Linked DNA regions of Homo sapiens: regions 1, 2, 3, 4, 5 and 6 are each linked to region 7. Evidence: promoter capture Hi-C in 16 types of primary human blood cells and fetal thymus (Javierre and others, 2016). All regions are on one chromosome and are shown on one strand. The core of a region is centred on a gene start or on the middle of the fragment in contact, and the rest is flanking DNA. Distances in the headings are between cores, read along the strand shown. Region 1 has its middle 29 kb from the start of ZNF564. Region 2 overlaps ZNF709 (zinc finger protein 709). Region 3 has its middle 15 kb from the start of ZNF709. Region 4 has its middle 2.1 kb from the start of ZNF563. Region 5 overlaps ZNF791 (zinc finger protein 791). Region 6 overlaps ZNF490 (zinc finger protein 490). Region 7 holds the start of ZNF823 (zinc finger protein 823).

Region 1 (3,091 bases), core at 436-2,935, 780 kb after region 7:
TCTGTCACCCCAGGTTGGAGTGCAGTGCTGTGATCACAGCTTACTGCAGCCTTGATGTTCCGGGCTCAAGTAACCTTCCTGCCTCAGCTGGGACTACAGGCACACACCACCACGCCCAGCTAATTTTTTAAAAATTTGTTGTAGAGACGAGGTCTCACTGTTTCCTGGGCTAGTCTCAAACTACTGGGCTCAAGTGATCCTTCTGCCTCTGCCTGCCAAAGTGCTGGGAATACAGATGTGAGCCACCATGCCCAGCTTAGAATATTCTTCAAATGTCCATACCACCCAAAGCAATTTGCAGATTCAAGTGTGATCCCTATCAAAATACAAGAGCCATACTTCACAGAAATCGAAAAAATTATCCTAAAATTCATATGGAACCACAAAAATAGCCAAAGCAATCTTGAGTATGACTTCACAATAGACTACAAATCTAAAGTAACCAAAAAAGCACCGTACTGGCATAAACATAGACAGACCAGTGGAACAGAATAGAGAAACCAGAAATAAATTCACACACTTACCAACGATTTTTGACAAAGGTGCCAAAAACACAGACTGGAGAAAGGACAGTCTCTTCAATGAATGGTGATGGGAAAACTGGATTATCAACATGCAGAACATTGAAACTGGACCCCTATCTTTCACCATATACAAAAATCCACTCAAAATGGATTACGGACTTACATGTAAGACTTGAAACTGTAAAACTACTAAAGGAAAACAGTAAAATTCTACATGACCTTGTCTGTGCAAGGACTTTGTGGATAAGAACTCAAACACACGGGCAGCAAAAGCAAAAACAGACATGAGATTACATCAAACATCTCAATCCCAGCATTATCTCACTCATTCCACCTCTGGGAGTTACTCTGGGGCAGTCTCTGGCTGGATTCATCTTTCTCTGTGCTCTGCACAGACCTAGTACCAAGGGGACTAGAAGCAGCATTTACTTGTTCACTAAAAAAGGGGTATCTGCAGGAAGGTGCTGCAGTTCAGGCTGTGGCCACGCTGGGGCATCAGTAGACAGGTAAAATGTAGTAAGATAACCCACAGAAGGTGCATCGTGACGTGCTTGACAGTAATTCTGTCTGAAGCGTTTTGTTTTGCTTTGTTTTGTTTGAGACAGGGTCTCACTCTGTCACACAGATTGAAGTGCGGTGGCATGATCTCAGCTCACTGCAATCTCCGCTTCCCAGGTTCAGGCGATTCTCCTGTCTCAGCCTCCCGAGTAGCTGGAATTACAGGCGTGTACCACCACACCCGGCTGATTTTTATATTTTTAATAAGAGACGGGGTTTCACCACGTAGGCCAGGCTGGTCTTGAACTCCTGACCTCAAGCTATCTGCACACCTCGGCCTCCCAAAGTACTGGGATTACAGGCGTGAGCCACTGTGCCTGGGCATAAAGTGTTTCCATTAGCAGTACTCATGTTGCGGTATTATTGTCATCATCATCATTTTCATAAAGTAGAAAGTAAAACTTCTCTCAATGGTACCCATAATTTACACTGAAGATGTAACTATTCCTTGAGAACAAGATAGAACCTGGCCTGGGAAACAGCACTAATGCTTGTAAATTAGTTCTGTGACAACTATTCTGATTTCTTCTATGGTTGCTTATTCTTCCATACCATGTAAGTAAATTCCGTGATTATTAGTTTTGGGTGATTCATGCTTTCCCCACTAGAAAGAACAATTTGGTTTATTACGCTATCTTCCACCCGTTTCTCCAACACCAGTCACTATTTCAGTCAGAGCATGAAGAAAAATAATTTTGGAAATGGAAACCTGATGTTCTGCCATTTAAAGGTACTTCATGAAATCCACTCCAAGAGGGATCACTTGCTTCATTTCCTTGCAGAGTTGTTTTTTGTTTTTTTTTTTTTTTTTGCGATGGGGTCCCACTCTGTCGCCCAGGCTAGAGTGCAGTGGTGCAATCTTGGCTCACTGCAACCTCCGCCTGCTGGGTTCAAGCAATTCTCCTGCCTCAGCCTCCTGAGTAGCTGGGATTACAGGCGTCAGCCACCATGCATGGCTAATTTTTCGTATTTTTAGTAGAGTTGGGGTTTCACCATGATGGCCAGGCTGGTCTCAAACTCCTGACCTCGTGATCCATCCGCCTTACCCTCCCAAAGTGCTGGATTACAGACATGAGCCACTGTGCCTGGCCCATTTATTTCTTTATTGTGCAAGCAGTGACTTATTTATCCACTGCTTTTTTTTTTTTTTTTTTTTGAGATGGAGTCTGGCTCTGTCACCTAGGCTGGAGTGCAGTGGCGTGATCTCAGCTCACTGTAACCTCTGCCTCCCAGGTTCAAGCAATTATCTTGCCTCAGCCTCCCAAGTAGCTGGGATTACAGGTGTGCACCACCACACCCAGCTAATTTTTCTGTTTTTAGTGGAAATAGGGTTTCGCTGTGTTGGCGAGGCTGGTCTCGAACTCCTGGCCTTAAGTGATCTGCCTGCCTCGGACTCCCAAAGTGCTGGGATTACAGACATAAGCCACCACACCAGGCCTGGCTCTCCATTTCTTGAACACCACCTTTACCCCAGGTACAGAATTAGTGGTAAATAGTTACACATTACCTATTACATAAACTTTCCATACCTAAGAAGTTCTCTCCCACCTTTTCTGGACACTATATGCTGCTATTTCTTCTCATATTCTTAAAGATTTCCGAGCAAAGAATTTCTATTTGCTTAAATTATCAGATATATATTTGATATACATGTCTGTGAATAGTGTGCAGAGGAAATTAAAAGTATCCCTCTTCAATAAAGGGAAGTGGTTATCATAGGCCCTGGGTCTGGGAGTGAGGTCCAGGTCTACAGTGAAGGGGGGAGGAGACAGGGAAGTCAATCCTGGGGATCAAATCTAAATGCCTACTAAAATCCAAATGGACTGTGTAGGAACAGGTCCCTCATGGATAGAAAAACGAAAAAAACAGTGCTGAGAACAAGTAGGAAAGAGACCTAGAGACTAGGCGCAGTGGCTCACGCCTGTAACCCCAGCACTATCGGAGGCCGAGGCGGACAGATCACTTGAGATCAGGAGTTCAAGACCAGCCTGGCCAACATGGCGAAATCC
Region 2 (3,192 bases), core at 379-2,878, 720 kb after region 7:
ATAATACCTTGGATAAATTCAACCTAGAGATGAGGTGAGTCAGAGCATCAGAGAATATTCCCAACCTTAAGAGTCTAAATGGTTGCCTGGTGGACACATTAGAGTTTCTAGGAAAATCCAAACTGCAGTGCATCTTTGAGTAGAACTTTTGAAGACAATTTGTGGAAAACTACATCTTTGAAAATATGGCAGCTGGGGCCATGCACAGTGGCTCACGCCTGTAATCTCAGCACTTTGGAAGGCCAAGGTGGGCAGATCATGAGGTCAGGAGTTTGAGACCAGCCTGGCCAACAATGATGAAACCCTGTCTCTACTAAAAATACAAAAAAAATTTAGCTGGGCTTGGTGGTGGGCACCTATAATCCCAGCTACTTGGGAGGCTGGGGCAGGACAATTGCTTGAACCCAGAAGGCAGAGGTTGCAGTGAGCCAAGATCGTACCACTGCACTCCAGCCTGGGCGACAGAGCAAGACTCCATCTCGGAAAAAGAAAGTAAAGAAAGAAAAGAAAGGGAAAGGGAAAGAAAGAAGGAAGGAAGGAAGGAAAATATGGCAGTCAAGCAGTTAGTGGTGGTTCTAAGAATACTCTCAATTGGCAGAGCAAAGGATCAGGACAATGTGGTGGAAGCAGGTGTCCCTGAAGCTCCTATGCATCCATCTGTCTCCACATATGGTGGCTATAAAACCTGACTAATGCTTTCTTCACTTCTGCCTTCCATATCTCCTGCAAGTAGGCTATTGGTGAATTATACCGTGGAGCCATAAAAGGTTAGATTATAGAAAACATAGGTCACAACATAACCCATGTTAACACAATCCAGGACAGCCATTTCCAGCTATAGGTTATATGGTTCTATCTCAGATCTCTCTTATTAATACAAAGTCTATTATTCAAATCACAGCCAGAAGGAATTACAAACAGCAAACAGAAGATGAAAATAATAATTCCAATGAGAGAGTATACTGTATGATAAACTTTGCAGACTCAAAAATTTATTATGATTATTTTTTAGCATAAAAAATAGAAAAAAGGGTACTCTGTCTTCCTCTAAAAAAGCCTCTTTTGGTCAGAAAGATGAAATACATATAATGATATCTAGTACCTGCCACATAAGGCCAGTAGGAAATCCTAAAAATTACCAAATTGTCATTTTTTGATGGCCCATTACAGCACAACTAAAAAATACATAAAAATCAAAACTGCTAGCTTATTATAAATACACTTCAATTCACTCATGAATCTAACAGACTTCAATATGGAAAGACAAAATTTCAGAAACTGATTTAATGAAAAAATACTATCAATTCAACTTGTGTACAACTGTATAAGAGCTTACAGAATTATCTCATCTCAGTGTTCTTTTGTGAAAGTAATAGAAATCCATAATTCAGAGATCCATTTTAAGAATCAGTAACTGATAATATGTTTTATCACATTTCTGACATGTTGTGAATTTTCTAGAACAATATACATGAATTAATTTGCATCAGGCTTTCCCATATTATCTACATTTATACAGTACCTCCCTAGTGGGAGTTTCAACATGAGATTGAAGTTTCACACATAAGGGAGTATCACATGAGCATTTGTTAAAATGGAAAACATTGCTATATCTCACTTTTATAGGATTTCTATCCAGTCTGCATTCTCACATATTAGTATGTGGGCCAACTGAAGGCTTTCTCACAATGTCTATATTTAAGAAGTCGCTTTCCAGTGTGAGTTTGTTCATGGTTTCCAAGTAAACTAAGACAAATAAAGGTTTTTCTACATTTTTTACATTTATAGGGTTTTCCACATTCTTTACATTTTTAAGGTTATAAATTCTTTACATTTATAGGGCATATGAAAATTCTTTACACTTCATATGCCTTCTCATGGTCCTTAAAAGGTCATATGACCATTGAAGGTTTTCCCACACTGCCTACATTCGCAGGGTTTCCTGTCCAGTATGAATGCTTCCTCATATTCACATGTAAATAACTGAAGGTATTCCCATGTCTTATAGGGTTTCTCTGAAATATGAATAATTTCATGTCTTCAAAAGGAAATGGGGGCCGGGTGTGGTGGCTCACACCTGTAATCCAACACTTTGGGAGGCCAAGGCAGGTGGATCGTCTGAGGTCAGGAGTTCGAGACCAGCCTGGCCAACATGGCGAAACCCCATCTCTACTAAAAATACAAAAATTAAGTGGGCATGGTCGTTCACACCTGTTGTCCCAGCTACTCAGGAAGCTGAGGCAGGAGAATCGCTTGAACCCAGGAGACAGAGGTTGCAGTGAGCTGAGATCACTCTACTGCACTCCAGCCAGGGCAACAGAGTGAGAATTCAACTCAAAAAAAAAAAAAAAAAAAAAGGAAATAGGACAACTGAAAACTTTGCCATATTGCTTATATACATAGGGTTACTCTCCACTATGAACTCTTTCATGTATTCGAAAGGAACGGGAACACTTGAAGGCTTTACCACATTGTTGACATGCATAGGGTTTCTCTCCAGTGTGAGTTCGTTCATGGATTCGAAAGGAACGTGAGCAACTGAAGGCTTTGTCACATTGTTTACATTCATAGGGTTTCACTCCAGTGTGAGTCCTTTCATGCATTCGAACAGAACTAGAACAACTGAAGGCCTTACCACATTGTTTACACTCATAAGGTTTCTCTCCAGTGTGAGTCCTTTCATGTATTCGAATGGAACTGGAACAACTAAACGCCTTACCACACTGTTTACATTCATAGGGTTTCTCCCCAGTGTGAGTCCTTTCATGCATTCGAAAGGAACTGGAACAACTGAAGGCTTTACCACATTGTTTACATTCATAGGGTTTCTCTCCAGTGTGAGTCCTTTCATGCATCCGAAAGGAACTAGAAAAACTAAAGGCTTTACCACACTGTTTACATTCATAGGGTTTCTCTCCAGTGTGAATTCTTTCATGCATTCGAAAGGAACTGGAACAACTGAAGGCTTTACCACACTGTTTACATTCATAGGGTTTCTCTCCAGTGTGAGTCCTTTCATGTATTCGAACAGAACTGGAACAACTGAAGGCTTTACCACATTGTTTACATTCATGGGGTTTCTCTCCAGTGTGAGTTCTTTCATGCATTCGAAAGGAACTGGAACAACTGAAGGCTTTACCACACTGTTTACATTCATAGGGTTTCTCTCCAGTGTGAGTTCGTTCATGGATT
Region 3 (3,223 bases), core at 181-2,680, 760 kb after region 7:
AGGCATGTGCCACCATGCCCAGCTAATCTTTTTGTATTTTTAGTAGAGATGGGGTTTCTCCATGTTGGTCAGGCTGGTCTCGAACTCCTGACCTCAGGTGATCTGCCTGCCTCGGCCTCCCAAAGTGCTGGGATTACAGGCGTGAGCCACCGTGCCCGGCCTTTTTAATGTATATTTTTAGACAGGGTCTTGCTCTGTCACCCAGGATGGAGTACAGTGGCACGATCGATCATAGCTCACTGCAGCCTCAGCCTCCCCTGCTCAAGTGATCCTCCCAACTCAGCCTCCTGAGTAGCTGGAACTACAGGCACATACCACCATGCCTGGCTAATTTTTGTATTTTTTGTAGAGGCAGGGTTTCACCAACCGGCAGGGTTGCCCGGGCTGGTCTTGAACTCTTGAGTTCAAGTGATCCTCCTAGCTCGGCCTCCCAAAGTGCTGGGATTACAAGTGTGAGCCACTGCACCAGGCCTCCATTCATTTTAGAGAGATAATACATGTGAAGGTTAAAAAAAAAAATCTATGAGACAGGAAAATCTAACATAAGACTCACTGTCAAGCATATCCTGGTTCATTCCAGGATTCTTGCTCCAGCCACCCCGCCCTTCGTAAAAACTTTTGGTAATTCCTTGTGCATCCTATTAGTGTTTCTTTATTAAAACAAGCAATTGCAGGCCAGGCGCGGTGGCTCACACCTGTATTCCCAGCACTTTGGGAGGCCGAGGCAGGCGGATTACCTGAGGTCTGGAGTTCGAGACCAGCCTGACCAACATGGAGAACCCTTGTCTCTACTAAAAATACAAAATTAGCTGAGCGTGGTGGCGGGTGCCTGTAGTCCCAGCTACTCAGGAGGCGGGCGCCTGTAGTCCCAGCTACTCGGGAGGCTGAGGCAGGAGAATCACTAGAACCCAGGAGACTGAGGTTGTGGTAAGCTGAGATTACGCTATTGCACTCCAGCCTGGGCAACAAGAGTGAAACTCCGTCTCACACAACAACAACAACAAAAACAAGCAATTGCAAATGCATGTTTTTCTTATCCATGTTTGCTCTTGTAATGAGTAGTTGGACTCCACCCTTTCTGGTATTTGACTGTTGGCAGATTCAGTGTCAACCCCCCTCTTCTTTCTAACAGCTGCCCACTGTCAATGGAATCACCAAACTCTCAAATATTTTAAGGCTTTATTCTGAGTCAGTATGAGTGACCACGGCCCAGAAAACGCAGTCTCAAGAAGTCCTGAGAAAGTGCACCAGTGGCAGCCAGGTTACAGTTATTTGGTATTTTTGAGACAGGGTCTCACTCTGTCGCCCAGGCTGGAGTGCAGTGGCACAATCTCAGCTCACTGCAACCTCAGCCTCCCAGGTTCAAGCAATTGTTGTGCCTCAGCCTCCTAAGTAGCTGGGATTACAGGCCTGCGTCACCATGCCTGGCTAAATTTTTTGTATTTTTAGTAGAGATGGGGTTTTGCCCTGTTGGCCAGGCTGGTCTTGAACTCCTGGCCTCAAGTGATCTGCTGGCCTCAGCCTTCCAAAGTGCTGGGATTACAGGCACGAGCCACAGCACCCAGCTACAGTTTGGTTTTATGCATTTTAGAAAGACAGGAGTTGCAGGCAGACATAAATCAGTACATGGAAGGTAGGCATTGATTTGGCCTGAAAAGGTAGAATATCTTGAAGCGGGGGCTTACAGGTTATAGGTAGACTCAGAGGTTCTTTGATTTACAGTTGGCTAAAGGAGTAAACATTTGGAGTCATTAGATAAGAATGAATGTTTGGGCCGGGCGCGGTGGCTTATGCCTGTAATCGCAGCACTATGGGAGGCCGAGGCGGGTGGATCACCTGAGGTCAGGAGTTCGAGACCAGCCTGGCCAACATGGAGAAACCCTGTCTCTACTAAAAATATAAAATTAGCCAAGCGTGGTGGTGGCGCCTGTAATCCCAGCTACTCGGGAAGCTGAGGCAGGAGAATCACTTGAACCTGGGAGGCGGAGGTTGTGGTGAGATCATGCCATCGCACTCCAGCCTGGGCAATAAGAGCGAAACTTTGTCTCAAAAAAAAAAAAGGAATGTTTAAGGAAGACAGCTGGGCTCAGGAGCCTATAATCCCAGCACTTTGGGAGGCTGTGGCACACAGATTGCATTAGGCTGGGGACAGTGGCTTATGCCTGTAATCCCAACACTCTGGGAGCCCAAGGCAGGTGGATTACTTGAGGCCAGGAGTTCAAGACCATCCTGGCCAACATGGTGAAACCCTGTCTCTACTAAAAATACAAAAATTAGCTAGGTGTGGTGTGTGTGCCTGTGGTCCCAACTATTTGGGAGGCTGAGGCAGAAGAATCCCTTGAGCCCGGGAGGTGGAGGTTGCAGTAAGCTGAGATTGCGCCACTGCACTCCAGCCTGGGTGACAGAACGAGACTCCATCTAAAAAAAAAAGTAAAAATGAGGTCGGGCGCAGCAGCTCACGCCTGTAATCCCAGCACGTTGGGAGGCCGAGGAGGGCGGATCATGAGGTCAGGAGATCGAGACCATCCTGGCTAACACGGTGAAACCCCGTCTCTACTAAAAATACAAAAAATTAGCTGGACGTGGTGGCGGGCGCCTGTAGTCCCAGCTACGCAGGAGGCTGAGGCAGGAGAATGGCGTAAACCTGGGAGGTGGAGCTTGCAGTGAGCCAAGACTGCACCACTGCACTCTAGCCTGGGCGACAGAGTGAGACTCCATCTCAAAAAAAAAAAAAAAAAAAAAAAGTAAAAACGATTAGCTGGGTGTGGCAGCATATGCCTATATTCCCCACTACATGGATCACTTGAGCCTGGGAGGTCCAAGCTGTGGTGAGCAGTGATTATGTCACTGTACTCCAGCCTGGGTGACAAAGCAAGAGACCCTGTCTCAAAAAAAAAAAAAAAAAGATAAGAAAATCTGTTAACCAATACACTGGGTCGGAATGACCTAGAGTTTGTGACTTAACCCTTGGAGAGCATGGCCTTAGGTCTTATTTATAATTTGGTATCTTATTGTCATAAAGAGTTTTGTTAGTTTTATGGTCTCTATTTTAACATTAATGCTGGTCAGTTGTGCCTAAACTCCAAAAGGGAGGGGTTATAACAGGGTGTGTCCGACCTCCCTTCCCATGGCTGGGAATTCAGTTTTTATTGTTTTTGTTCTTTCAAGACAGGGTCTCACTCTGTTAACCAGGCTGGAGTGCAGTGGCACAGTCATATTATAG
Region 4 (2,887 bases), core at 248-2,747, 600 kb after region 7:
GAATGAATGAATCAAAACAAAAATACAACAGGAAAAAAAAAGCAAAAACTTGAACTAGTGCAGATAAGCAGCCTGCTGCCCTCATACTTCAGCAAACGTCCCATTCAGGAGGCTAAACATATGCCCAAACTTGGCAGCCACTCTTAACTGTTGAAATGGAACCCCAGAGTGAACCAAAACCTGGTGATGAGACTGGGACACTGAAGGATTTGACTCTGGGAGCTCAACATACTTCCCTGTGCCCTCTGCAGAGTGTGGAAATGCCCCCACCGTCAAGATGTGCATTTTCACCAACAGGAAAGTTTCATGTAAAGTTAGTTTAAGGGCCCGGGGCGGTGGCTCACGCCTGCAATCCCAGCACTTTGGGAGGCCGAGGCGGGTGAATCACCTGAGGTCACCAGTTGGAGACCAGCCTGGCCAACATGGTGAAACCACATCTCTACTAAAAATACAAAAATTAGCTGGGCATGGTGGCGGGCACCTGTAATCCCAGCTACTCGGGAGGCTGAGGCAGGAGAATCACTTGAACCTGGGAGGCGGAGGTTGCAGTGAGCCGAGATCGTGCCACGGCATTCCAGCCTGGGTGACAGAGTGAGACCTGGTCTCAAAAAAAAAAAAAAAAAAAAAAAAAAGGTTACTTTAAGGTACTGACCTACATAAACTGTCAAATTCATAAACCCTTTACCCAGATTTTCCTAACACATAAATGGTAAATTCTGATTCTATGTGCAGCTTCGTGCTACGTGGAGGCGTGCGCAGGCTGCTGAGGAAGCACCAAAGGGGGCTCCATTTCTCTCCCTTTGCAGCCTTCAGAATGGGCTCGGTGTAGAGTCACTGGTTCAAACTCTGCTGCCCACTCCAGGTGGCTGGGGCTCAGAAAACAATACCCCAAAAAGAAGACCTTGGAAGAAGCCTCAGAAGCAAAAGTTTTTTCTCCACAGAGGGCAGAGGAAAAACTTAGTCCCATTCTTGGGACTCTTAGTCCTACTCTTCTATCCAAGGCTAGCCTTAGAAACTAGAATCTCTCTTCTCCAAAGTGGGTCGTAGAATCCAGAACCCTTTTCCCCTAAATCCAGGCATAAAATCAAAACATACTACTCTAACTTTCCATTGTCCTTTCTGTGTAAAAACTGGCCATAAGCAAATTAACTGTCCAACTTTGTTTGACTGCAGGTCAGGGTGGCCCTGGGGCTTCCCTGGGCCACATTGGAAGAAGATGAATCGTCTTGGGCCACATATAAAATACACTAACACTAACAATAGCTAATGAGCTTAAAAATATATAGCAAAAACAAAAATTCCTAATGTTTTAAGAAAGATCATGAATTTGTGTTGGGCTGCATCCAAAGCCTTCCTGGGCCATGGGTTGGACAAGCTTGCTGTAGGTCATAAGACCCTCCATTTCAGAGTGGGTCCTGCCTCATACTGAGAAGGAAGGAATGCATGCTCAGAAAGGCCAAGAACAATCTAGACACACAGGCCTTGTTGGGTTTCCCCACTCAGTCTGTTAGCATTGGATCATACTCTTTCAATCTAATCACATTTCTACACGGCTGTCCATACATTAAGCCTAAGCATTAAAATGAACAATTTCCTTTGTATCTCTGGGTCTTCATTCTGAAGCTTCCTGGATATACGCGTTAAATAAAATTTGTATGCTTTTCCTCCAATTAATCTGCCTTCTCTCCAATTAATTCAGCAAAACATCAGAGGGCAAAAGGGAATGTTCCCCATGGCCTCTGTAAGAGTCTTCACTTGCTTCTCACCAGCACTGATGAGTTAATTGAAACAAAGACCCTCAATTCCACTGTTTGAATAAAAAATTGACAATCTTGGGTTTCTTCCTGTGTCTATATATAAAGTAGTGGAAAAAATATATATAAGATATTTAATAGGGATTTGGAAACTGGTAAATGGACTGGGCATGGTGCCTTGGGCCTGTAATCCCAGCACTTTAGGAGGCAGGGGCAGGAGGATTGCTTGAGCCCAGGAATTGGAGACCAGTCTGGGCAACACGGGGAGATCTTGGTTCCTCAAAAACAAAACAAGGCCAGGCGCGGTGGCTCACACCTGCAATTCCAACACTTTGGGAGGCTGAGGCGGGCAGATCACAACGTCAGGAGTTCAAGACCAGCCTGACCAACATGGTGAAACCCCGTCTCTACTAAAAATACTAAAAATTAGCTGGGCATGGTGGTGCGTGCCTGTAATCCCAGCTACTCAGGAGGCTGAGGCAGGAGAATCGCGTGAACCCAGGAGGTGGAGGTTGTGGTGAGCTAAGATCGCACCATTGTACTCCAGCTTGGGCGACAGAGCGAGACTCCGTCTCAAAAACAAACAAGCAAACAAAACCAACTGGTAAATAATTATTCTGTTGAGAAACAAACATGCTAACAAACTATTATTTTTACCTTAGCAAACTGTTGTGTAAAACAACTAATTAAATGTGAGCTCTCCTCTCTCCTTGGCTTCAGTCACTCCCTGACCTTCATAGCTCAGGGTTGACATCATGTGCTCTGTGCCTGGGGATGGACATGTCCCATTTATCCATCTGAAACCCCCTCTCAACCCCAGCCCACACCATTGACCCAAACAGTCATATCTGTATCTAAATCCTAAGTATTGTACAAATACATTTTCCTTTTAAGCAAACTGGCCCAGGTTGAATTCACCTGTGGTTCTCATGCCCACAGTTTCATTTATTCATTTGAAACAGTCTTCTCAGATAGTAATGTCTTGGGTGAGGACACATCCATTTTATTTGCTTCTGTTCTTCTTAACCTGTGTCACTACCTGCTCAGTGAGGGCACAGACAGAATATTCTAAGTGACTATCAGCTGCTGTAAATACTGGAGGTCTCAGCACAACCCTGAGAAATCCGCACCAG
Region 5 (2,916 bases), core at 160-2,659, 890 kb after region 7:
CCACACACCAAAAAAAAGTTAAAAATTTTTTATCACTGGCTCATTCTTCAAGTACATCTCTGGACTATGAATTGTAACTTAACTACTTTTCCAAGAAGTCTTGGAAGTGAGATAATTCTGTAAGTACTCTTTAAGCAGTGGTCAAAAGTTTAAAAGGTTGTGTTTTCTCATTAAATCAGTTAGTAAAACTTTTCTCTTTCTCTTGATGTCTTGATTCATGAGTAAACTGAAGTGTATTTTTTTTTTTTCGAGACGGAGTCTTGCTCTGTTGCCCAGGCTGGAGTTCAGCGGTGTGATCTCGGCTCACTGCAAGCTCCGCCTCCCGGGTCCACGCCATTCTCCTGCCTCAGCCTCCCCAGTAGCTGGGACTGCAGGCGCCCGCCACCATGCCCAGCTAATTTTTTTTGTATTTTTAGTAGAGATGGGGTTTCACCGTGTTAAGCCAGGATGGTCTCAATCTCCTGACCTCGTGATTCGACCGCCTCAGCCTCCCAAAGTGCTGGGATTACAAGCTTGAGCCACCGCACCCGGCCTGAAGTGTATTTTTTTTTTCTTTTAAAGACCAGTGTTAGTAGAAGTGTATTTTTAATATACAATTAGTTTTAATTTGTGTATAGTTTTTCAGTTGTTCTCTGAATAAAGAGATTGTTGAATACTGACACACTGTAACTAGGATTTTTCCTACTGGCCTCATGTGGAAGGTGGTGCATATATTACCCATTATATATTTATTTCACCTTTTCCGAAAAACTGCTTTTTAAATTTCTTGGCCAGACACGGTGGCTCACTCCTTTGTAATTCCAGCACTTTGGGAAACCAAGGCAAGCAGATCACTTGAGGTCAGGAGTTCGAGACCAACCTGGCCAACATGGTGAAATCCCATCTCTACTAAAAATACAAAAATTAGCTGGGCATGTTGGAGGGCACCTGTAATCTCAGCTACTTGGGAGGCTGAGGCAGGAGAAATGCTTGAACCTGGAAGTCAGAGGTTGCAGTGAGCCAAGATCACACCACTGCACTCCAGCCTGGACAACAGAACGAGACTCCATATCAAAAAAATTAAATTAAAATATAATAAATTTCTTGCCGGGCGCAGTGGCTCACACCTGTAATCCCAGCACTTTGGGAGGCCGAGGTGGGCGGATCACGAAGTCAGGAGATTGAGACCATCCTGGCTAATACAGTGAAACCCCGTCTCTACTATAAATACAAAAAATTAGCTGGGCATGGTGGCGGGCGTCTGTAGTCCCAGCTACTCAGGAGTCTGAGGCAGGAGAATGGTGTGAACCCGGGAGGCGGAGCTTGCAGTGAGCCGAGATCGTGCCACTGCAATCCAGCCTGGGCAGCAGAACGAGACTCCATCTCAAATAAATAAATAAATAAAATGAATTTCAGCTAGAAGAGCCTTATTCCATTTTCCTTTTTATTAAACATCTGGCATAAGTTGGTAAGTATGTGAAGTTTATCATATATTCTTATGCGAATTATTATTTTCGCCTTTTTTTTATAATTCTGTCTGGGATTTGAATAGTAGAGTTTGAATTCAGGAAGGACACCTGTGATAGGACAATAAAATCTAGAGCTGGACGTGGCCCTCCTGCTACCTGTCGACACAGGTAAATTTCCTAGAATCTGTTCCCTTTATAGATCCATGTTGAAATTCACTTATAGCCTCACTTGCATGAGATTTGCCAGGCAGAAGTGAAGAAGACATTAGTCAGGTATTGGAACCCCACCATACAGGGAGACAGCCTGCTTCCTGCTCATTTTCCTGGTTATTTTCTCTGCCAATCAAAAGTATCCTGAAAACACCCTGAGCTGCTTGACTTCCATTCTCAAAGAGATGTGTTGGTTTCCACAGTTGTCTCCACAAGCTCCGCATCAAAGATCCACGTACAGTTTGGATTTTCCTTCTAGCCTTCATGTGTGGCCCAAGCATCTATTTCAGACTGTCATGGTTGGCATTGTTCTCTGAGGTTCTGTCTTCCCTTTGTGTTTCTATGAGCTTTAATTTGTATGGTTCTTGTTCTGTTAATGCCACTAGGGACTATGTATTCCTGATTCCACCATGACAGCTACAGTAAAACAGTAAAAAAAAAAAAAAACAACTATATGGGAGTTTGTTCTCTTACTGCATTATACAGTGACTACTCTCCCCCATCCTTCCATTTGAGAATAATCACCTTCCTCATATCAGACAAATTGTGGGTGTTTCCAACTATTCCTGAATATTCTCCATCGGTTTATTTTCATTTATGTTTGGTTGTATGCAACTAAAATAATGCATTTTTTATTTATTTGAAGCAAAAGCTTCTTAGATGTTTCTTAGAAATATTTTGTTAACTGTTTCCAAACAACATGTATACTATCAAATATTATCATCATCTGGGTGCAGTGGCTCATGGCTGTAATCCCAACAATTTGGGAGGCTGAGGCAGGATTGCTTGAGGCCTGAAGTTGGAGACCAGCCTGGGCAACATAGTAAGACCCCATCTCTATTAGTTCAAAAACAAATAATTGTCTTCCCCGTTTCCTGAAAGGCTATATTAAAATATCCCATTACAGTTATGAATATTCAGATCAACTTTGTCATTTTGTCAAGATACATTCTGACTCAATATTAGCATGTGCATAAATGTTCTGGTATTTTTCCCTTAGATGTTTTTTATTCTTATACTTACATTTTGTCATAAAACAAAATTCTCTTCAAAACAGTGGTATTTTCAGTGCCCTATTGCCAGCAATCACCACGGTCACACCTGTATTCAGAATTAATTATGGTAATACAGTAGTCAATTCTGATCCAAAGTTTTGCTTTCTGTGGTTTTAGTCACTCATGGTCAAACACAGTCCAAAAATACTTAGTGGAAAATTCCAGAAATAAATGTTTCATAGACTTATTTATTTATTTATTTA
Region 6 (3,006 bases), core at 416-2,915, 840 kb after region 7:
TTTCACCATAATGGCCAGGCTGGTCTCAAACTTCTGACCTCAGGTGATCTGTCTGCCTTGGCCTCCCAAAGTGGTGGGATTACAAGCGTGAGCCACCACCACTGCGCCAGGCTCTTTCTCATTTTCAAATGACTGCTCTTTCAGGAATGACCACTAATGGGGCCCCAACATGCACAAGATAAAATCTCACCACCAGCCCCCACCACCAGACCTACAGGACAAGGCCAACACCTAGCATCAGTCCCAGCTTCATTCTACATAGAAAGGCAAAGTGAAAACTCCTAGCCCAGACCATTTTAAGGAGGGCCCAAATCCGATACTCCTGCTCCTAAATGCCAAAGACTTATAGAAACTGCCATCTTCGGTTGGCTAAATCTGGAACACAAGTTTGTTCGGCCTCAGCAATGGAACACAGAGCAGCAAGCAGCAGCAGCTCAAAGAGCATGCTGGCCACCAGGTAGCAGAGCAGGTTAGCACCTGAGAGAAAGGGAAAGCTGACCCATTGCATGGTGACCAACATCTAGACATCCTGCTGACAGTGCCAACTGTTACGGTTGCCTGAAAAGGTGTGCTTCAGAGGTTGACACCGAGAGCTATGTGGTGCACACACACACCGAGAGTATGAAAAGGCTTATTACAAAAATGAGGTATCAGAGAGAACAATGCAGGGCTCTCAAGCAAGTGTGACATGGCGTGAGAGCAAGGAAGATGGCATTCCTGTCCCTTATGAGTACTGATGCAAAAATCTTGAAATAAATGCCAGCAAAGCATATAAAGCAATATATTCAAAGCATTATGCAATATAACCAAGTGAGATTTGTCCCTGGAATGTAAGGATGGTTCACCATATGGAAATTGATCAGTGGAATACACCACATTAGGAAATGACGGAAAAATGACAGTCTCAATTGATGCAAAAAAGCATGACATAATTCAACACCCATTTATGATTAAAAATCTGCAACAAACAAGGAATATAATTTACTCAAATTGCTACAAGGCATATATGAAAAACTCAATAAAATCTTTGATGGTGAAAAACCATATTTTTAATATCTAATATCAGAAACAAGGATATTTGCTCTCACCAGCTCCATTCAGTGTTAAGGGGGGTGCTCCCAGGGAAATCAGGCAAGAAAATGCAAGCATTCCAGCCGGGCCTGGTGGCTCAAGCCTCTAATCCCAGCACTTTGAGAGGCCGAGGCAGGCAGATCACAAGGTCAGGAGGGCGAGACCATCCTGGCCAACATGGTGAAACCCCGTCTCTACTAAAAATAAAAAAACTAGCTCGGTATGGTGGCACGCGCCTGTAATCCCAGCTACTCAGGAGGCTGAAACAGGAGAATTGCTTGAACCTGGGAGGCAGAGATTGCAGTGAGCCGAGATCATGCCACTGCAGTCCAGCTTGGTGACAGAGCGAGACTGTGTCTCAAAAAAACAACAAACAAACAAAATAACCAGCCAGGCAGAGTGGCTCACGCCTGTAATCCCAGCACTTTGGGGAGACCGAGGTGGGTGGATCACAAGGTCAGGAGATTGAGACCATCCTGGTCAACATGGTGAAACCCCATCTCTACTAAAAATACAAAAAAATTTAGCTGGTTGTGGTGGCACGCGCCTATAGTCCCAGCTACTCAGGAGGCTGAGGCAGGAGAATTGCTTGAACCTGAGAAGTGGAGGTTGCAGTGAGCCAAGATTGTGCCACTGCACTCCAGCCTGGCAACAGTGAGAATCCATCTCAAAAAAAAAAAAAAAAAAAAAAACCTAAAAGCATTCCATATTTAAAAATATATATAAATATATATACACACAGCCCTCTAGACAAATATACAAAAATCACACACGTTATCACTGTACATACAGGTGGACAGACACAAATTCACAAACCCACAGGTGTAACAGCCCAGATACTAAAAGATTCTCCCAAATAGAAGGACCCCAGGTGTTCTGATCTCTTCTCCAGGTTTCTCTGGCTCCTCGGGAATAACCACCACAGTGCCTTATATATCCTTGCTTGCTTTCGTGTCTTCCAGAATGCCAGGATCAAGGGGACAGAGATATTAGCACAGCTTTGTTGACTACACCTATTAGAGGGAGTTACACAGAGGAAAATACTTACTGAATATTAGGACTCACACAGACACATACACAAAAGGGTTTTACAAAAACATCATCATAGACCCACATATACTTGTCCTTCAAAAAGTGAATGTTCTCACTCCCATTCCTGTAGCAGAGATACCCCTTAGTTCCCCAATACCTATCACAAAAGATGGCTCCTTGAGCCCATTCTGACAGTGAAGGAATCTCGAACTTCCTGACCTCCCACAGTACAATAATCATCTCTCTACAAAAGCACAACATGGCAGCTCAAGAATGTGAAAGGACCTGAAATGGGTTGAGTAATAATGTTCCAACCCCTCATACTACCATAAATGTTCCTGGTGAGAGAAGCGAATGTTCCTGGTGAGAGAAGCGAAGGTGTGCATCTCCTGGCTCAGCCACCAGGTCCTCCACTGCATCTCCACAGTAGCCGTCACTTCCACTGAGGCCTCATCTGCCAGCAAACCTTGCTCCAGTCGGCCTCTGGACCCTAGTATCTTCACCGTGGTTTTGGATGCTGCCACCTGACCCATCCCTGCTGTTGGGGGAGGGTGGAGGCCAGAGGCCTAAAGAGTTCCGACCCGAGCGACACAAAGATCACTTCTGGGACCCACCCAGGGAGACTGTTGTTACGAGGGTGGATGGTGACCTGGTTTCCCTCAATGCTGCCACCTCCCTTCTAAAACACACTGACTTGCTAAGAAAAGGGGGGACTGACTCCAACAAAGGACAGACCCGACCCCTATCGTGCCTATGCAATTCAGAAAACGGAGAATTCGGAGGCTCCAGCAAGCAGTTTATTGGGAGTTGAGTTCACCTTGCCTTGTGATGTGAAGCAAGGTAGTTCCATGGCTTGTGAACCCTGACACCAGCACCTCCCATACACAACAGAGCTGGAGCGCT
Region 7 (3,139 bases), core at 442-2,941:
ATTTTTTTTTTCTTTTTCTTTTTTCTGAGACGGAGTTTCACTCTTGTTGCCCAGGCTGGAGTGCAATGGCGTGATCTTGGCTCACCGCAACCTCCGCCTACCGGGTTCAAGCAATTCTCCTCCCTCAGCCTCCCAAGTAGCTGGGATTACAGGCATGAGCCACCACCCCGGCTAATTTTGTATTTTTAGTAGAGACGGAGTTCCTCCATGTTGGTCAGGCTGGTCTCGAACTCCCGACCTCAGGTGATCCGCCAGCCTTAGCCTCCCAAAGTGCTGGGATTACAGGCGTGAGCCACCGCGCCCGGCTTTTTTTTTTTTTTTTTTTTTTTCACACTGGAGTCAAGTGGTTATTCTTTGCTTCCTCACATGTGAAATGTTCACAAACACAAAAACACATCTTTTAAAAAGAGCCATACATTGCTATGTGAAAAGAAAGTGACAATTAAAATAATGCCTCTGTTTGAAATATTGCCTGAGGGACAAAGAGTTCATAAAGTTGCTGGGAATTGATGAGAGACAGTTAGCCTGGGGAAGGCTCTGAAAACCAAGAGATTTGCTGCCAGCCCTAGGAGGAGTTAGGATGAGGGGATAGGGTGGTGGATTTGAGACCCTGCTGCCCACATCTTTGGAAGACTCGGAGGGAAACCGGTCACCTTTGGGAAGAAAGAAGGGACTGGGGAACCCACAGATCACAGCTTCTCTTCCAAAGCACAAAGCCCACACACACGAGTCTGGATTCTGCCTGGTGACCCTCCGTTGTCACCGTGCAGCGTCCTCACCGGGTTCACAGGAACTGCGAGCCAGGCTGGAGGCGAGATTGCAGTTAGATATTAACCAGGTGCCCTCAGCCCCGCTGCCTCACGGGGCCGCCTCCCTGAGAGTCAGGTCACAGCAGACGCTGACCGCCGGCTTCCTCATCGTGCCCGGGGATAAGATCTCTTGAGAGTTGCTCACGGGTCGCCTCAGTTCTTTCTCGGATCCTGAATTGCAGCGGAAAGGCTGGCGCCAACCAGGCTGAAGACCCCACAAGGGAACCCACTCAGCAGAATGCGGTTTCTTCACCTCCAGTCCCAGGAGTCACCTCTCACTTCTCCACCAACCAGCGACCCCACACTCCAGCCGTCCCTGTCCACACCTCTAAACACCCCATCCCCAAACCTCTCAGGGAGGCGGATCTGGGGTGTCCTCCCCTCTCCCCCATTAAACTGTTTCTGCTGCAGCCTTCGGCGTCTCGGTGCAGTGACTCGGGCCGTGAACCTGTGCCGGTTACAACTGCACAATCTGGGGAGACGCGGAGCTGCGGGCGCGGAGCTGCCCAGAGAGGGCGCCGGGGCCGGGGCCGCAGCGGCCGAGCAGGGACGGGACAGGACGCCCGGGGTCCCGGCTGCCGCCCCAGCCCCATCTTGCGGCCCAGGGGACCAAGGGCAGAGCTGCGCCAGGGGCACTGGGATTTGCAGACCCCGGAGTCGCCCAGGGCGAGGCCCGGGTCCCCTCACGGTCGGTTCCGGCCGGTTCCAACCTGCCCCTTCTTTGCCTCGGGACGCCGGGCCCCGCACACTCACCATTTCCCAGCTTCCAGGTGTCCGGGTGTCCTCCTTAAAAGCCAGTGTGGGTCCCAGCGCGACAGACGCTGATACAGACCTTCCAGGGCGTCTCTCTCTCAGCGCCAGAGCCAGGACTCAGAGCGCAGGGGCGTGGAGAAGACTCCGCGGGCTCTTTGAACGTCGCACCCTCCTCCCTGCAGCGTGCCTGATTGACAGTTCTCACAATCCCCGCCCCCTCATCCCTGATTGGATAGTGCTCCAGGTCCCGCCCCTTGGTGGCTGATTGACAGAAGAAGCGATCTCACAGTGCTGAGTGGAGCCGGATGAACAGGTTCCAGGCACGACCCTTGGCAAGGCGGGCTTCCTCCCAACGGAGTGACCTGACCCCTCCCGAAGTGACGTTTGCATTTTAGAATTTCCTGATTGTATTCAGTGGGTTCTTCCTGCTTTTTCCTCCTGGACAGGGACTCACAAGTGTGTGCAGGGAATTCCAGGCTCCCTGTCCAGTGGAGCCATTCCCGGACCTCGGAGCAGGAGGGGAGCCCGGGGCACACAGGCCACCCTGCAGCAGGAGGGAGGGCCTGATGTCCTCCAGGGATCAGGAATTTGGGATGAGGCTGTTGGCGACGTTGCCAAGCCTTTCCCTCACCTTATCTCTCAATCTACTCATTTTCAGCCCAGAAGATAAAAACAGGACAACAAAATAAAATAGTTGAGTATGTGGAAAAACTGGAATTATATGGCAGCAATATTTCATAAAGAATCAAAAGAGAAGAAAAGCAAAAACTTGAACAAGCTCAGAGAAGCAGCCTACTGCACTCACAGTTCACAAGCAGACCCCCTTTCAGGAGGTCAAACATATCCCCAAGCTGGGAAGCCAGGCAATGATTCCTAAAATGGAGCTCCGGGGTGGATCAGAAGCTGGTGATAAGGGAGGGACAATTAAGAATTTTACTCTGAGGTCTCAAAATACCTGTCCCCTCTGCACAGCGTGGAAATGCTCCCTCCTTATGCCATTAAATGTTAATGAATTAAACGCTCCAATCAAAAGCCAAGACATCACACTTTGAATTTGAAAACATTAGCCTTTCTCCATATGTTTATGAAGTAAAAATACTAGACTTAAAAGCGTTATGGCCGGGCGCGGTGGCTCACGCCTGTAATCCCAGCACTTTGGGAGGCTGAGGCGGGTGGATCACCTGAGGTCGGGAGTTTGAGACCAGCCTGACAAACATGATGAAACCCCGTTTCTACTAAAAACGCAAAATTAGCCGGGTGTGGTGGCACGCTCCTGTAATCCCGGCTCCTCAGGAAGCTGAGGCAGGAGTATCGCTTGAACCCGGCAGGCAGAGGTTGCAGTGAGCCGACATCACACCACTGCACTCCAGCCTGGGCAACAGAGCGAGGAAAAAAAAAAACTCCATCTCAAAAAAAAAAAAAAAAAAGCGTTATGAACTAGAAGCTGGTAGCCATGGCTAAATAGAAAGGAGCTGAACATGAGATGTCAATAGATGAAATGAAATCTTCAATCAACTTCTAGAAACTATAGCATTTTCTGCCAGGACAAATGGGCACGTTTAGAAAATGAATGAAAA

What was found. The method cuts DNA at HindIII sites, captures the fragments that hold promoters and counts their contacts. A CHiCAGO score of 5 or more calls a contact.
Region 1: a contact is called between a fragment that was not itself captured here and the fragment with the promoter of ZNF823 in region 7, in 1 of 17 cell types (M1 macrophages). The highest score is 5.6, in M1 macrophages.
Region 2: a fragment that was not itself captured here is called in contact with the fragment with the promoter of ZNF823 in region 7 in 1 of 17 cell types (non-activated CD4 T cells); the score reaches 5.1 in non-activated CD4 T cells.
Region 3: a contact is called between a fragment that was not itself captured here and the fragment with the promoter of ZNF823 in region 7, in 1 of 17 cell types (neutrophils). The highest score is 6.6, in neutrophils.
Region 4: a contact is called between a fragment that was not itself captured here and the fragment with the promoter of ZNF823 in region 7, in 1 of 17 cell types (total CD8 T cells). The highest score is 5.0, in total CD8 T cells.
Region 5: a contact is called between a fragment that was not itself captured here and the fragment with the promoter of ZNF823 in region 7, in 1 of 17 cell types (erythroblasts). The highest score is 5.2, in erythroblasts.
Region 6: a contact is called between a fragment that was not itself captured here and the fragment with the promoter of ZNF823 in region 7, in 1 of 17 cell types (neutrophils). The highest score is 5.6, in neutrophils.

What each region holds. Positions count from the first base shown.
Region 1 is chr19:12,521,191-12,524,281 of GRCh38, forward strand. No RefSeq gene overlaps it. Among named protein-coding and RNA genes, the nearest start is that of ZNF564, 29 kb to the right of the region's middle. RefSeq lists a silencer at 845-1,139. The HindIII fragment of the contact is 5,681 bases long and covers 1-3,091 here.
Region 2 is chr19:12,461,591-12,464,782 of GRCh38, forward strand. ZNF709 (zinc finger protein 709) reads right to left here. Exons shown (of 4, transcript NM_152601.4): 4 at 1-3,192. The coding sequence ends at 2,406. Among named protein-coding and RNA genes, the nearest start is that of ZNF709, 22 kb to the right of the region's middle. The HindIII fragment of the contact is 3,846 bases long and covers 1-3,192 here.
Region 3 is chr19:12,498,495-12,501,717 of GRCh38, forward strand. No RefSeq gene overlaps it. Among named protein-coding and RNA genes, the nearest start is that of ZNF709, 15 kb to the left of the region's middle. The HindIII fragment of the contact is 4,354 bases long and covers 1-3,223 here.
Region 4 is chr19:12,334,263-12,337,149 of GRCh38, forward strand. It overlaps a transcript of ZNF563 not described here. Among named protein-coding and RNA genes, the nearest start is that of ZNF563, 2.1 kb to the left of the region's middle. RefSeq lists an enhancer at 1-292. The HindIII fragment of the contact is 248 bases long and covers 1,374-1,621 here.
Region 5 is chr19:12,631,730-12,634,645 of GRCh38, forward strand. ZNF791 (zinc finger protein 791) reads left to right here. Exons shown (of 4, transcript NM_153358.3): 4 at 1-2,105. It overlaps LOC105372279 (a long non-coding RNA gene), which reads right to left. Exons shown (of 4, transcript XR_007067142.1): 4 at 1,410-2,759. Among named protein-coding and RNA genes, the nearest start is that of ZNF791, 22 kb to the left of the region's middle. The HindIII fragment of the contact is 1,798 bases long and covers 511-2,308 here.
Region 6 is chr19:12,575,074-12,578,079 of GRCh38, forward strand. ZNF490 (zinc finger protein 490) reads right to left here. Exons shown (of 5, transcript NM_020714.3): 5 at 1,027-3,006. Among named protein-coding and RNA genes, the nearest start is that of LINC02926, 25 kb to the left of the region's middle. The HindIII fragment of the contact is 7,779 bases long and covers 1-3,006 here.
Region 7 is chr19:11,737,255-11,740,393 of GRCh38, forward strand. It overlaps ZNF823 (zinc finger protein 823), which reads right to left and starts at 1,692. Exons shown (of 4, transcript NM_001080493.4): 1 at 1,563-1,692. The coding sequence starts at 1,565. RefSeq lists enhancers at 1,066-1,195, 1,586-1,665 and silencers at 1,266-1,415, 1,676-1,870. The HindIII fragment of the contact is 8,001 bases long and covers 1-3,139 here.